Linked DNA regions of Homo sapiens: region 2 is linked to region 1. Evidence: promoter capture Hi-C in 16 types of primary human blood cells and fetal thymus (Javierre and others, 2016). All regions are on one chromosome and are shown on one strand. The core of a region is centred on a gene start or on the middle of the fragment in contact, and the rest is flanking DNA. Distances in the headings are between cores, read along the strand shown. Region 1 holds the start of MTMR12 (myotubularin related protein 12). Region 2 holds the start of NADK2 (NAD kinase 2, mitochondrial).

The links. Contacts are between HindIII fragments. The CHiCAGO score rates a contact against its expected background, and 5 or more counts as called.
Region 2: a contact is called between the fragment with the promoter of NADK2 here and the fragment with the promoter of MTMR12 in region 1, in 1 of 17 cell types (fetal thymus). The highest score is 6.2, in fetal thymus.

What each region holds. Positions count from the first base shown.
Region 1 is chr5:32,309,298-32,316,724 of GRCh38, reverse strand. It overlaps MTMR12 (myotubularin related protein 12), which reads left to right and starts at 3,786. Exons shown (of 16, transcript NM_001040446.3): 1 at 3,786-3,967. The coding sequence starts at 3,887. It also overlaps the pseudogene RNU6-378P. RefSeq lists an enhancer at 3,318-3,367 and silencers at 3,458-4,247, 4,318-4,457, 6,583-6,743. The HindIII fragment of the contact is 10,159 bases long and covers 1-7,339 here.
Region 2 is chr5:36,238,766-36,246,192 of GRCh38, reverse strand. NADK2 (NAD kinase 2, mitochondrial) reads left to right here and starts at 4,268. Exons shown (of 12, transcript NM_001085411.3): 1 at 4,268-4,694. The coding sequence starts at 4,395. It overlaps LOC124900962 (a long non-coding RNA gene), which reads right to left and starts at 4,291. Exons shown (of 3, transcript XR_007058733.1): 1 at 4,165-4,291. RefSeq lists enhancers at 3,744-3,943, 5,294-5,363 and a silencer at 4,184-5,203. The HindIII fragment of the contact is 2,649 bases long and covers 3,566-6,214 here.

The DNA.
Region 1 (7,427 bases), core at 2,537-5,036:
AGCTGAAATCAGGCCACTGCACTCCAGCCTGGGCAACCGAAACTACAAAGGATTAAACCCTAAGTCCCTCGCCCCCCGTTCTTTTTTTTTTTTTTTTTTTTTTTTTTGAGACAGGGTCTTGCTCTGTCACCCAGGCTGGAGTGAGTGGCATAATCATGGGTCACTGCTGCCTCCAGGGCTCAAGTGATCCTCCCACCTCAGCCATCCAAGTAGCTGAGATTGGGACTACAGGTGCACACCACCATGCCAGGCTAATTCTTTGTATTTTTTGTAGAGACTGAGTCTCCCTATGTTGCCCGGTCTGGCTTCAAACTCCTGGACTCAAGTGATCTGCCTGCTTTGACCTCCCAAAGTGCTGAGATTACAGGTGTAATCCCACTGCACCCGGCCTCCAAGCCTTCTTAAGTATGAGATTCTGTGTGACTGCACTAGTTTCATGTCCAAAGAAGCCAGCCTTGGACATAGTCACATTTACTAACAACTATGGTGAAAGGTCATGGAAATTCAAAATACTTTGAAAAGTAAGAAAGGAAACATTTTCTCAGTGTCTAAAAATCTGCCCTGCCATTCTACTTCGAAAAGTGAAGACTGCTGCAAAATATAATGATATTAGTCTTGACAAAGAAAAGTATTCTTTAACACTCCCATGAAGAATATCTTTTTTTATGAAGCCTTACTTTGTAACTATAATAGGTTTGTTGCCCAATGCACTGGACAAGTCAATACACCAAGGCACCAGGTTACAGCAGTGAAAGAGGTTTAATTGTAGGGCTGCTGGATGAGGAGACAGGAGGAAACCTCAAATTCATCTCCCTGAGGAGTCAAGGAGTTTGGGGCTAGGGTTTTTTTGCGGGGGGATGGTTTTTGAGACAGGATTTTGCTTTGTCACCTAGGCTGGAGTGCAGTGACCTATCAGTTCACTGTAACCTCAAACTCCTGGGCTCAAACAATCTTTCCACCTCAACCTCCTGAGTACCTTGTACTACAGGCTTGCACCACCATGCCTGACTAATTTTTTAATGTTTCATAGAGACAGGGCCTCACTATATTGTCTGGGCTGGTCTTGAACTCCTGAACTCAAGTGAGCCTCCTACTTTGGCCTTTAAAAGTGCTGGGATTACAGGTGTGAGCTACTGCACCCTGCCTGGGGCTAGGGTATTTAAGGGTTTTGAAGTGGACCAAAGTGTGGAGATCATCAATTGGTTGAAAAGTGCAGGGTAAAGTCATGAGACAGAGAGATGAAGAAATTGTATTCTCGCACTGATTCGGTTCCTGTGTGTGTGTGGGTGTGTGTGTGTGTGTGTGTGTGTGTGTGTTGGGGCGGGGGCGGTCTTTAAACTGGTTGATGTCGGCTGTTCTGCTGGAACGTAGGATCTGCCTAAGCAATTCTTAAATAAAACCCTTATGATTCCAGAGCCAGAAATCCTACCTATTGAAACAACAGGGATGCAAATGGTCAGTACCTAGTGTTACCTGAAGTTATTAATACAAAGAAGCAGGCCGAACTGCAGCCTGATTAATGCTTAGTTATAACTCTATTTTTGTGCAGAATTCTTCTCAACCTTGTAAGGATGGCCTCAACTTGGACTCCCCAAATAGAATTGACCACACTTTCATTGTGCTCCTTTCTAATTTGTATAATTATAATGTTAAGAACTTGGGATTTCGAATGAGACAAACCCGGGTTGAAATCCCAGCTCTCTCAGTGACTAGTTGTGAGACCTGGGCAAATTACTTGCATCTCTGTTTTGTCACCTGGAAACTGGGATAAGGAAACTCAGAGGCGGCTGCAGCACAGCTATACCAAATATTGGCTTACAGGTGGCAATCTAGCTGGAAACGGAGCTGCAGGACTTGCGTTGAAACTATGTTTGCAAAAGCAAGCACATTTGTTTTCACTAAGATTTTATATTTACTTGGAGTGTATTTGGGAAGGGGGAGCACATGGAGATTAAGAGGGTAAAAATCAAGGTCACCAATGAGAGTACTTAGCACAGTGCCTGACGCCTAAAAAATTAACTGCAAATATTTATGTTTTTTTCCACTAGATTGAATTTCTTAAGAGCTGGATTCTATCTTATTTATCTGCAACTAACAACGCTTGGCACCAAATGTAGAACTGAAATGAATTTTCTTTGCAATCTTGACTAAAAAATGAGGGTTTTATCAATAACTTCGTAGAGTAAATAGAAGTCTCTTAAGGGCTCTTGATATTCTTCCTGTTGGAAACACAAAGAAGGGAAAGGTTTGGAAAAATGAAGTTGACAAAGTCTTTTATTATCAAACGCTCAAACTTATTCCTCACTGCCTTGTTAACACTTGATTTGACACTTTTTTTTTTCTGTTTGAGACACAGTCTTGCTCTGCCACCCAGGCTGGAGTGCAGTGGCGCGATCCTGGCTCACTGCAACCTTGGTTCAAGCGATTCTCGTGCCTCAGCCTCCCGAGTAGCTGGGATTACAGGCGCCCGCCACCACACCAGGCTAATTTTTGTATTTTTAGTAGAGATAGGGTTTCTCCATGTTGGCCAGGCTGGTCTCAAACTCCTGACTTCAGATGATCCACCCGCCTCGGCCTCCCAAAGTGCTGGGATTAGAGGCGTGAGTCATCGTTTGTCTCATTTTTGTTTACATTTAAAATAATAAACCTTGAGGTCGGGCGCGGTGGCTCACGCCTGTAATCCCAGCACTTCGGGAGGCCGAAGCGGGTGGATCATCTGAAGTCAGGAGTTTGAGACCAGCCTGGCCAACATGGTGAAACCCCCGTCTCCATTAAAAATACAAAAATTAGCGGCATGGCGCGGTGGCTCATGCCTCTAATCCCAACACTTTGGGAGGCTGAGGCGGGCGGATCACGAGGTTAGGGGTTTGAGACTAGCCTGGCCAACATGGTGAAACCCCGTCTCTACTAAAAATACAAAAATTAGCCGGGTGTGATGGCAGGCGCCTATAATCCCAGCTACTCGGGAGGCTGAGGCAGGAGAATCGCTTGAACCTGGGAGGCAGAGGTTGCAGTGAGCCTATACTACGCCATTGCACTCAAGCCTGGGCGACAGAACGACACACACACACACACACACACACACACACAAAATTAGCTGGATATAGTGGCGGGCGCCTGTAATCCCAGCTACTCAGGAGGCTGAGGCAAGAGAATCGCTTGAACCTGGGAGACGGAGGTTGCAATGAGCAGAGATCGCGCCATTGCACTCCAGCCTGGGCGACAAGAGCAAAACTCCGTCTCAAAAGTAAATAATAATAAAATAAAAAACCTTGAACGTCATCGCTGTAAGTTGGGAACTCCTATAGCAAGATTCCATACATCCCATTTTTGGACGTTTTATTCCAAAGACACAAGCAAACGGAAGAAAACGACTGCCGTGAACCCCTGCTAACGACAACTTGGTGACTGCAGGATCATTGGACGACGGTTTTATCCTCGCCATCCAATCGTTGGAAAGTCCGGAGAGAACGCTCTCTGGATTGGTTGGAGGAAACATCTCTCCAAGTGCACTCAAGAATGGGTTGGGAGCGGGGTTCGGCCGGCAGCGCCTCGGGCCAATCAGAGAAAGCATGAGGGCGGGCTCTGCCGCAGGAAGGTGGTGAATCTCGGCGGGTCAAACTCTCCTGACGTGATGGGGGGGCGTGGCCTCCAGTTGCGGTCTCCCGGCTCTCTGGGCCCGCGCACGGGATGGGCGGGGCCCACGGGCCTGGGCGGGGCGAGCGGTGTCAGCGGCGGAGCCGGATGCGGGCGGCATCGCGGCGGTCGCGGCCTTGGGGATGGGCGGAGCCCCAGCCGCTAGTGCTGGTGGCCGCCGCTGCTGCCCCAGCTGGAGCCCGAGCCGCCGCCTCTGCGTCCGCGCGTCGCTGCTTCCCAGGGCGGCGGTATGCTGGGGAAAGGAGTAGTCGGCGGTGGCGGCGGCACCAAGGCCCCCAAGCCCTCCTTCGTGTCGTACGTACGCCCTGAGGTGAGGGGGCGCCGCGCAGGCGGGGCGTCGGGCAGGGGCGGCCGGGGCGAGGGGCGCCGGGAGCCCCTTCCTTGCAGCGGGGAGCGCCGCGGAGCGCTTCCTGCCCTTGTGCCGGGCGACGGGGCAGCCAGGCGGGCTGAGGCCGCAGGAGCGCGCTGGGGCCTCCGCGCGGGCCGGAATGGGGACCCCGGCGCAGGCAGGCAGGTGCCTGAGCGCAGGGCCCGAGCGCTGGAGGCTGGTGGAGGGGCCCGAGCCGAGAAGGGATTGCGGCCCGGAACGCCCCTGGGGATTCTGGAGAGGACCTGGGGTTGTGGGCACTGCTGGGAGGGGTAGGGCCGTGGGTCGGAGCCCCCAACGGGGCCTGCTCGGAGCCCGCGTGGGTCCGTCCTGCCTCTGGACTTTCTCAGTGAGCCCAGAAGCCCGCCGGCCTCCGCTGCCTGCGTCTGAGTGCCTCGGGTGCGGCTGGCGGGATGCCCTGCACCTACGTCCGCCTCCCGTCAGCGCTGCGGGGAGAAAAGGGGGTCGGCCTGGCCTCAGCCAGTCTCTGCTTGTCTCTCCCTTGGGAATTCTCCGCTGTCGCTTCTTTCTCCTCATCCCCTCACCATCATCCTTTCCACCCACTTCTTACTCTTCTGAATCTTCAGGTCAAGAAATTTGTTCATTCATTCAGAAAATACTTCTCGAGCTCCTACTGTGTGTCAGGCACTAAGTGCTTGTGATAGACATCAGTGAACAGGACAGAGATCTCTGCATTCCTGGAGCTTATTTGAGGGGGAAAGGAGAAACGGGGTGAATTATAGATAATTAAGTAAATTATACGGTGTAGTAGGAGGTGATAAATATCATGGGAAAGAAAAGAAATCTTTTTCCTCCTCGCAAAGGTGGCATTTGAGCCGAGACTTGAAGATACGAGAGGTCTGAGAGAAGAGTCGTCCAGGTAGAGGGAACAGCCCCCGGGAAGGTCGTGAGGTGGGAGTGTGTCTGAAGGGTTGGCGGAGCGTCAAGGAAGCCAGCATGGCAGAGGCCCATGGACAAGGGGGACAGTCATAGGAGAGGAGGTTAGAGAGATCAGAACTTGTAGGCCTTGCTCAGGGCTTCTTGAGCAATAGTTCTTAATCCAAATGCCTAATGAGAAGCCTTCTTGTTTTGCATCTGTAAAGGTTTTTTTCTGCCCTTCTCTCCAGCAGAAGTGCAGAAGCACCGCCAAATTTGTTGCAGATGTCTTCCCACCTCTGTAATGCAGAAGCACGTGGGCTGTGGATGAGAGATCTGATCAGGGACTGCTTCCGTAAAGACCACCTGGGGCCTGAGGCATTTGCATATGTATCTTTAAATTCAAGATATGTGTGTTTTCTCCAGGGGAAAGTGCTCTTAAAATGGGTCTTATTTTTAGTCCTAGTTGTAAAATACAAACCATTTCCTCTGTTAGCACTTGATGTGGAGTCAGGGTCATCTTAAAGTTTCAGCGGGCTTCCCTTGTGGTATCACATTTAAGCAATGTGGTCAATTTCTCTTTGTGTCTTTTTAAAACATTTAAACATTTAAAAAATTTTTGTGGGTATAGTAGGTGTATATATTTAATGGGATACATGAAATATTTGGGCTGGGCATGGTGGCTGACACCTGTAATCCCAGCACTTTGGGCCGGCTGAGGTGGGTGGATCACCTGAGGTCAGAAGTTGGAGACCAGCCTGGCCAACATGGTGAAACCCTAAAATTAGCCAGGCATGGTGGTGCGCACCTGTAATCCCAGCTACTTGGGAGGCTGAGGCAGGAGAATCGCTTGAACCCAGGAGGCAGAGGTTGCAGTGAGCCGAGATCGCGCCACTGCACTACAGCTTGGGCGACAGAGCGAGACTCCATCTCAAAAAAAAAAAAAAGAAAGAAATCTTTGGATACAGGCATACAATGCATGAATGGGGTATCCATCACTGCAAGCATTTATCCTTCCTTTGTGTTACACACTATCCAATTATACTCTTTAAGTTATTATAAAATATACAATTATTGTTGACTGTAGTCACCCTGTTGTGCTATCACTTACTAGATCTTATTCTAACTGTGTTTTTGTACCCATTAAACATCCCCACTTCCCTTTCCCCTGCTACCCTTCCCAGCTTTTGGTAACCATCATTCTGTCTCCATGAGTTCAAATGTTTTAATTTTTAGCTCCCACAAATAAGTGAGGACGTGCAAAGTTTGTCTTTCTGCGCCTGGCGTAGTTCACTTAACATAATGACCTCCAGTTCTGTTCATTGTTACAAATGACAGGATCTTATTCTTTTTTATGGCTGAATAGTACTCGTGTGTATGTACCACATTTTCTTTATCTATTCATTTGTTGATGATGGACACTTTGGTTGCTTCCAAATCTTGGCTGTGGTGAATAGTGTTGTAATAAACATGGGAGTGCAGATTTCTCTTCCATGTACTGATTTCCTTTCTTCCTTTTTTAGAGACAGGATCTTGCTTTGTCGCTTAGGTTGAAGTACAGTGGCGTGATCACAGCTCACTGTAGCCTCCACCTCCTGTACTCAAGCCATTTTCCCAAGTAGCTGGGACTACAGGTGCATGCCAGAGCACCTGGCTAATTTTAAAATTTTTAGTAGAGGTGATGTCTTGCTGTCTTTGCCCAGGCTGCTCTCAAACTCCTGGGCTCAAGCAATCCTCCTGCCTCAGCCTCCCAAAGTGCTGGGATTGTAGGCGTAAGCCACCGTGCCTGGCCCTGATTTCCTTTCTTTTGGGTGTATACCTAGCAGTGGGCTTGCCGGATCATATGGTGGCTCTATTTTTAGTTTTTGAGGAACCTCCGTACTGTTCTCCACAGTGGTTGTATTGATTTACGTTCCCACCAACAGCGTATGAAGGTTCCCTTCTCTCCACATCCTTACTAGCATTTGTTATTGCTTATCTTTTTTGGATATAAGCCATTTTAACTGGGATGAGATGATATCTCATACTTTTTTTTTTTAACATTTAAGGGTTTGTTAAAAATATGAAACGCTTCACGAATTTGCATGTCATCCTTGCGCAGGGGCCATGCTAATCTTCTCTGTGTCCTTCCAATTTTAGTATATGTGATGCTGAAGCGAGCACTCATTGTAGTTTTGATTTGTATTTCTCTGGTGATCAATGATGTTAAGCACGTTTTCATGTACCTTTTTTTGCCATTTGTATATCTTCTTTTGAGAAATGTCTTTCAGATCTTGTCTCCATTTTTAGGTGGATTATTAGATTTTTTCCTATTGAGTTGTTTGAGCTTCTTACATATTCTTGTTATCCCCTGTCAGATAGATGGTTTGTAAATATTTTCTCTCATTCAGTGGGTTATCTCTTCATTTTGTTGATAGTTTCCTTTGCTGTGAGGAAGCTTTTTAACTTGATGTGATCCCATTTGTCCATTTTTGCTTTGGTTGCCTATGCTTGTCGGGTATTCTTTATGTCTTTTTTTGATAGAACC
Region 2 (7,427 bases), core at 3,019-5,518, 3.9 Mb before region 1:
AGATGGAGTCTGAGTTTAAAACTCAAAAATCCATGAATGCCAGCAGTTTTGTTTGGGAGGGTGAGGTCGGCGGATTGCCTGAGCCCAGGAGTTCAGGACCAGCCCGGGGAACATTGCACAACACCCCATTTCTACAAAAATTTCTAAAAATTAGCAGGGTGGCTGGGCGTGGTGGCTCACGCCTGTAATCCCAGCACTTTGGGAGGCCGAGGCAGGCGGATCATGAGGTCAGGAGTTCTCAGGACCAGCCTGGCCAGGATGGTGAAACCCCGTCTCTACTAAATATACAAAAATTAGCCAGGCGTTGTGGCATGCACCTGTAATCCCAGCTACTCGAGAGGCTGAGGCGAGAATTGCTTAAACCGGGAGGCGGAGGTTGCAGTAAGTCGAGATGGTGCCACTGCACTCCAGCCAGGGTGACAGAGCGAGACTCCATCTCAAAAAAAAAAAAAAATTAGCAGGGCATGGTGACACGCATCTGTAATCCCAGCTACCTGGGAGGCTGAGGTAGGAGGATTGCCTGAGCCTGGGAGGTTGCAGCTGTGTGAGCCATGCGGTGCAGTGCCACTGCACTCCAGCCTAGGGGATAGAGTAAGACCCTGTCTCAGGAAAAAAAAAAAAAAAAGATATTTGTAAACTATGGCACTGGAAGGAAGAATTATTGAAATGATTAGCTAATGTTTAGCCTAATCAAGACTTGATATGGATAAGTTTTCTAACAGAGTGTTACCAAGATTTCTTAATTTCTACCAATCTAGTGGATATAAAATATTATTTCACAATGACATTATTTGTATTTCTCTAATTTCCAATAAGGTTATCTTTTCAAGTATTTATTCACTGTTTGTGTTTCTTCTAAAAAATTCCTGCTCACGCCTGGGCACAGTGGCTCACACCTGTAATCCCAGCACTTTGAGAGGCCGAGGTGGGTGGATCATGAGGTCAGGAGATCGAGACCATTCTGGCTAAGATGGTGAAACCCTGTCTCTACTAAAAATACAAAAAATTAGCCAGGCCTGGTGGCACGCACCTGTAGTCCCAGCTACTCTGGAGGCTGAGGCAGGAGAATCCCTTGAACTCGGGAGGCGGAGGTTGCAGTGAGCTGAGATTGCACCACTGCACTCCAGTATGGACGACAGAGCGAAACTCCATCTCAAAAAAAAAAAAATTCACAATTTTTGCAAAGCTAATCATGTCATTTTCTCCTTTTGGTTGCCTCCTAATATATGCAGGATAAAAGGCAGGTTCCTAAGCATGGATTTAACATTTTCCATTGTCTTTACCCTTGTCTACCTCTCTAGCCTCACTTCCCCATGTTGCCTGCCTCTCTCTAAATTCTCTAAAATTTCAAAATTGCTAGTTCATTGCTTCTATGCATTTGTTCATGGTGTTTCTTCTGTGGAATTTCCTTCTCATTCTTGCTGATAATGGCTAATATTGAATTCATTACTTAAGGCTTAGCTCTTCACATTCCCAAAAAGCCTTCTCTAACTCTTGTTAGGTTGACTTGAGACTTGCTCCTCCAAATTTCTCAGCATTCTGTGTATAACTCTATCACTGCATAGACTTTAGGCTCCTCAAGGGCATGGAAGCTTTTTATCATTTCATCTGTAGCACCTAGCAGGATGCCTGGCCTACAGTGACACTCAAATTTAATTTAATCTCCACGAATGTGTGTTACATGTGTAAGATTTAAGAGACATTATCTAAAAGGAAACTAGATAAGGATTGGAAATTCAAGAGAAAGATCTGGGCTAAAGATGCCAGTAATAGCTGAGGTCATGAAAGGGGCTAATATTTGCCAAGTGTCTACTGTGTAATGGGCACAGTGCTAAGCATCTGTGCATATATTCACAATTTTACAAGGTAGCAATTATATTTTATAAATGCAGAAGTAGTCTCAGGAAGGTTAAACAACCAGTTCAAGTTTCACAAAGCTAATAAACAATAAAACTGAGATTTGAACCAAGATCCTTCCATTACACAACACTGAATGAACTCAGGAGCGTGTGTGTGTGACAGAGAGAGAGAGAGAGAAGGAAAAAAGACGGAGAAGAAGAGACAAGGAGACGAGGACAGAAGACATCTTGGAGATGGGTTTAGGAAGAAGTCAAAAAGGGACATAGAGATGGGAGAAACACTGTTAGGGACTGGTATGTTGGGAGACAGTAAAAGATTTCAAGAAGAAATGATAACCATTTCAAATTCTTTGGAAAGATCAATCAATTAAAGAACTGAAAAAAGTCTTTTGAGTTCCAACAAGATCTTTTGGTCACCTTGGAAACAGCAGTAATTAGCAAAGTAGTGGGGAGAAGCTAGTGTACAACAGGTTGAGGAATGACTAGGAGGCAGGGATGTGGCAATGATGAACAGACTACTCTTTCGAGAATCAGCTGTAAAGGTAAGGCAGGCAATATGTAAAAACAAAGGCTTAGAGGTTGTTTTGTTTTTTTAGAAAAATTTTAAAGATGTCATAGACATGAGCATATTTAAATACTGAAGAGGCAAACTCATTTGGGAGGGAAAATTCAAGATACCTGTGAGAGGATGCCTTCAGAAACACTATTTTTGAGGAGGTGGAAGATGAGACGCAAAATAACTATGGACAAAGGGCTATTCCAACTGAGATGTCAATGTATATGTTTGCAGCTGAAATGAGAGTCAAAAATCTGGGTTTTTATCTGTGAAATGGGAAGAAATGAGGTCCGAGATTTCAAATATGAGCAACAAAACTCAGACTTTGATCCCAAACAGTTTCTCCCTACGCATTTTTTTTTCTCTATCGAATGGATCAATTAACATTCCCCTGTTCACCCTGGCCTCAAACCTAAGCGTCATCTGTGATTTCTCCCTTTTTTTTTTCCTTCCTAATGCTAATGAAGTTTAAAATAGTAAGACTACAAAGGAGTCTGAGGATAGTTATAGATGTTACCTCTAGAAGCTCAGGTTATTAAGGTTGTTACACTACACGTCACTATTAGCAGCTGCTGTGAGGGAAAGTTCTTGGTGAGAACGGGTCAGTGGTAGAACTTTACCAAGTAAACACCTATCGGGCTTCATTGTGTATGCTCCCAGTCCAATACACTACCTGGCACACAGCAGGCACACCGCGGGAACCCACGAATGAACGCTGGTGCTGGTGGGCCCGTGAGGAGAGTCATAGATTCACTGAATCGATTTGGACTTGGTAGAACCTTGGGGTCACCCTAACCCCCTTTTTACAGATGAGGAATCTGAGGCCCAGAAAGATGAGGTAACCTGCCCAAAGTCCAGAAGCGACGTAGCGCCAGGACTACAAAGGAGCAAACACAGTGCCAGGGGAAGGGGATCTAAGGAGCTGCGGAATTGAACAGCAGGATGTGCACTGCCATGTGGTTCTCCCCTTACAATGGGACGTTTCCTTCTGTTCTCGTCACACCCCAGCCCAGGTCCTGATCACTCCACGGGTCATTATCCCAACAGCATCCCTTCCTCCTCTTCTTGCCTCCCAAGCTACCCAAGATTCCAAAGCCAGATCAATAGTCATCAAACATTGCTTTAACTCACTCCTTTCCAGTTAAAAGCTTTCAAAGAACTAATTCATTTGGACTTTGTCCTATAGGTAGGGCTCTTCGGGGGGGCAGGGGGCAGCGGGGCGGGCACTGGGTCCCACGCCGAGAGGATTTCGTGCCAAGCCACGCACACGGTGCAGCAGGAGCCGGGTCCGCCTCCTCAGCCCCCAGCCCGGCCCCAGACACACCAGCTATCACACCGACCCTGGTCAAATAAACCAATGGGCACGTGGTCGGCCTGCAGAACAGAACCCAAGCGAGCATATGCCAGGAACCTGCCTTCCCGCCAGCCGCTCAAAACCCCACCCGCTGGCCCCGCGCCGCCTCAGACCGGATCCAGCTGGATTCCTCAGGGCGACGCAATCGCCTAACAGAATTCTACCTCTTTCTCAGGCCGCAGCCAATGGCGCGGCCCCTCGGATCCGGAGCCGCCGCGGGCTCTGATTGGCCGATAGAGTTAGCCTGGGGGCGGGAGAAGAGCGACCTCGGGGAAGCGTGTGGTGCGGGGAGGTCGCCCCCGGGCGGCGAAGCAGCCATTATGCAGGCGTGAGTGAAACGAATAAACAAACAAACAAAACCCACTAGCTGGGGCCTCCATTTCTTCCCCGCCCACCTTTCTCCCGCGTGGGGTCTCCCGTTTCCCAATCGCCACGCTTTCCCCGCCTTCGTCAACGCCTGGGTACGTCCCCCTAGCCGCGTGGGCCACGCACGTCCTGGCACTTAACCTCTGCCCGTCCGGCGCGAAGTTAGAGGCCCGGGCGGCGCGGACGGCGCGCACTCCCGGCGGTAGGGAGCTGAGGCAAGGGGCCCGAGCCCAAGCCCGCGGCCGCGGCCCGGCCCACGATGACTTGCTACCGAGGCTTCTTGCTGGGCAGCTGTTGTCGCGTGGCGGGCGGCCGGGCGGCGGCGCTGCGGGGACCGGGTGCGGGAGGCCCCGCCGCGCGGCCCCGGCTGGGCGGTGACGGTGGCGGCCGGCGGCACCTGGGGCAGGGGCAGCCGCGCGAGCTGGCGGGCTGTGGCAGCCGCGCGGACGGCGGCTTCCGCCCCTCCCGGGTGGTGGTGGTGGCCAAAACCACCCGGTACGAGTTCGAGCAGCAGCGGTACCGTTACGCGGAGCTCTCGGAGGAGGACCTGAAGCAGCTGGTGGGTCCTGGCTCGGCCCCGCTTCGCTCCCGGGCTCGGCCGGGGCTCTGGTGGCGGCTGCGCCCCCTCGGGGGGACCTCTCGGGACGACTCTTCCCAGGGCACCGCAGATGCCGGTCCTGCCTCTCTCGCGGCCCCCAGGTCCTCTGGCTTCTCCCTGGGCCTCCTTTGCCTTTGGGCGTGTGTGCGAGGGAGAGGCAGGGCCGGGGAGAGGGGGAGAGAGAGGGACAGTGGTTCATGCAGGGACTTAGGAGGCAGGGGCGCCGCGGGGAGGGCGAAGAGGGGCTGCCGAGTGGCCTCAGAGTGAGGGGTTTGAGGATTCGTTGGTGCCCTCGCCGCCCCCGCCCTCGTTCCCTGGTTGGGACCCACTCCAAGAAAGTGAGCCAGTGGCCTGAGGTCTGGACGCCCTGCGAACAGCTCCCCTGGCCGCCGCGAGAAAGGGGGCCCAGGGCGCCGCTGAGGGCTGCCGGGGGAAAAGGGCCGAAACAACCGCGGACACACCCCCTTTTACTCTGCAGGACTGCGAGGCCTAGGGCACTCCGGAAAGTCCTTCAGCGTGAGCCTTTTCCTTGCTGGAACGTGGTCGTTGGACACTACGAGCTTGTTTTAAAAGCACAGGTCTTTGGTGCTAAGAAGGAAAAGGGAGAAAATTTGACTTGTATATGTACGTTATTAAGGAGAAATGTCAGGACAAGGGGCTGGTATACTGGGTAGTGTGTGAAATAAAAAAGCCTGCGACTCTTGTGCAGCAGTATCTCCACAATATACCATATTTGATATGTTTATTAATATATCTGCAAAGATACAAATCCAAGGGAAAAACCAGAGTTTGAATCTTCCTGTTGTCATCCCCCCCCACCAACTTTAAAAACAGTTTCTGATCCCATACCACCATCCACCAACTTTAGGAAAAGGAGAGTGCCCGGTGCTACCATGAGCAGTATGTCCAGAAAAATATATTGGAAATCTCTTAATTGTTGGCACTGTGCACCAAAAGGTTTTGGAATTAATTGCACATAACTGATTTAGTTTAATTCTGTGCAAGACTAGACAACCTGTTGGAAACTTCTGGTATCGTGTGATCTTAGCGAAGTTATTTTGTAGAGGCATCAAAATGAAATTGTAAATCATCTTTGCTTAAGTGCTGAATCTGTTGTCAACATTAAACATCCTGCTTCTTTGTTGGGTTTACTGAAGAGGGCTCCTGCATTCACCTGATGGGAGTCTAGATGTGTAGATTTGTTTTCTTTTTCCTAAGTGTTTGAAAATGACTGTTTATAGAATACACTTGCATCATTTAAAGAATAAAGGGTTTGAACAGGAGGTTAGAGTAGTTGAGTTTGTATTAGGGAGTGAAACTAGAGGTGAGATAGGGACTAGTAATGTTCTAAGAAAGCACAGTGTTACTATTTGGGGAAAGTGGTGTGCCCTTTGGGTTGTACTAATTTTGCAAAGTCTAGCTTGTAGGATTTGTCAAATGCCATGTATGCATAAATATGTGCATACAGTTTTATCGAAGCTTCCCACAACAATTTAAAATAGCTCACTTGGCATGTTCAGAGTGTGGGATTAAGAGTGAAGAGCTCAGTTCTAGGCCCTGGTTCTGTGTGGTTAACTTCCTATGTGTGTTCTTCTCTGGGCCTCATAGGTGGAAATGATACTTTTTGTATAGTAGTGTCAGTTTTCAAAGTGCTTCACCTAATTCAGTATGTGAATTGCAGAGGTAGTACCAGATAGCCTCCAAGGCCCTTTACAGTACTGGCATTTTGAAACTGTGGATAACGTTTTCAAGGCCTCAAGAAAATGGGTGGCATCTCAGTTAGGATTAACTCTTGGACCTCTGAACTAGATTACCACTTAATAAAAAAACTTTTAAAATGTAGGGAAAATCAATAAGTCTTAAAAAGTCAAACTACCTAAGTGTACCCGTTCTGAGTGGAGAAATCTCTAATAGGTAAATATTTGTCTATTGCTAGGTAATGCTGTTTGGGATAAGCCAGCTTTGAAGTAAAACTCGTGGGCTGTAGAATACACAGTTTTGTAATTGCCAGGCAGTGGAATAGTTTTTGTTGGTGGTGTTGTCATTACAGTTTTATTGGATAAGTTCCTTACTGATTTGAATTTGTGTTATAGTTTATATAAAGGCCCATACTCAGAATGCAATAGCATTAGTTGTAGACCAGATGAGAGATTATTAACAGGCCAAAGAATACTGGGCTGTGTGAAGCTGTCCTAAAATGGGATTCTGTAATAGGAGTGATAAGATGATAAGTATTATTTGTTATATTGCTGGGGTAGAAAATACTAAGTTATGTGAATCATGTGAATTGGATGGATATAAAAGAAAGTGGCCAAGTGCTTGAGTCTCACCATGGCTGCTGTGTCTATAGTGTCATGGTAACTTGGTTTTTTGTCAAAGCATTCTCTTTTGTTGTCGTGGTGGTGGTTTTTTGATGTAAAACAGGTCTGTTTTAGGCTATTTGTTAAAATGCAAATGGAAGATGAAGGATAGAGTGCCAGTATAATTTTATACCCTGAAGGCTGATGATTTTCTAACTTTGTAGAAATGTAAACAATTACAGGAAATATTTTTTAGTTGATAAGGCATGCACAGAATAGGTTTACAACCTTCAAGCTAGTCAAAGTTTTGACTTTTATTTACCGTTTCATATTGGTTACATTGCTTTATTTTAAAATCTTGTCTTTTTCCCCATTGATTGACCAGTGACTTATT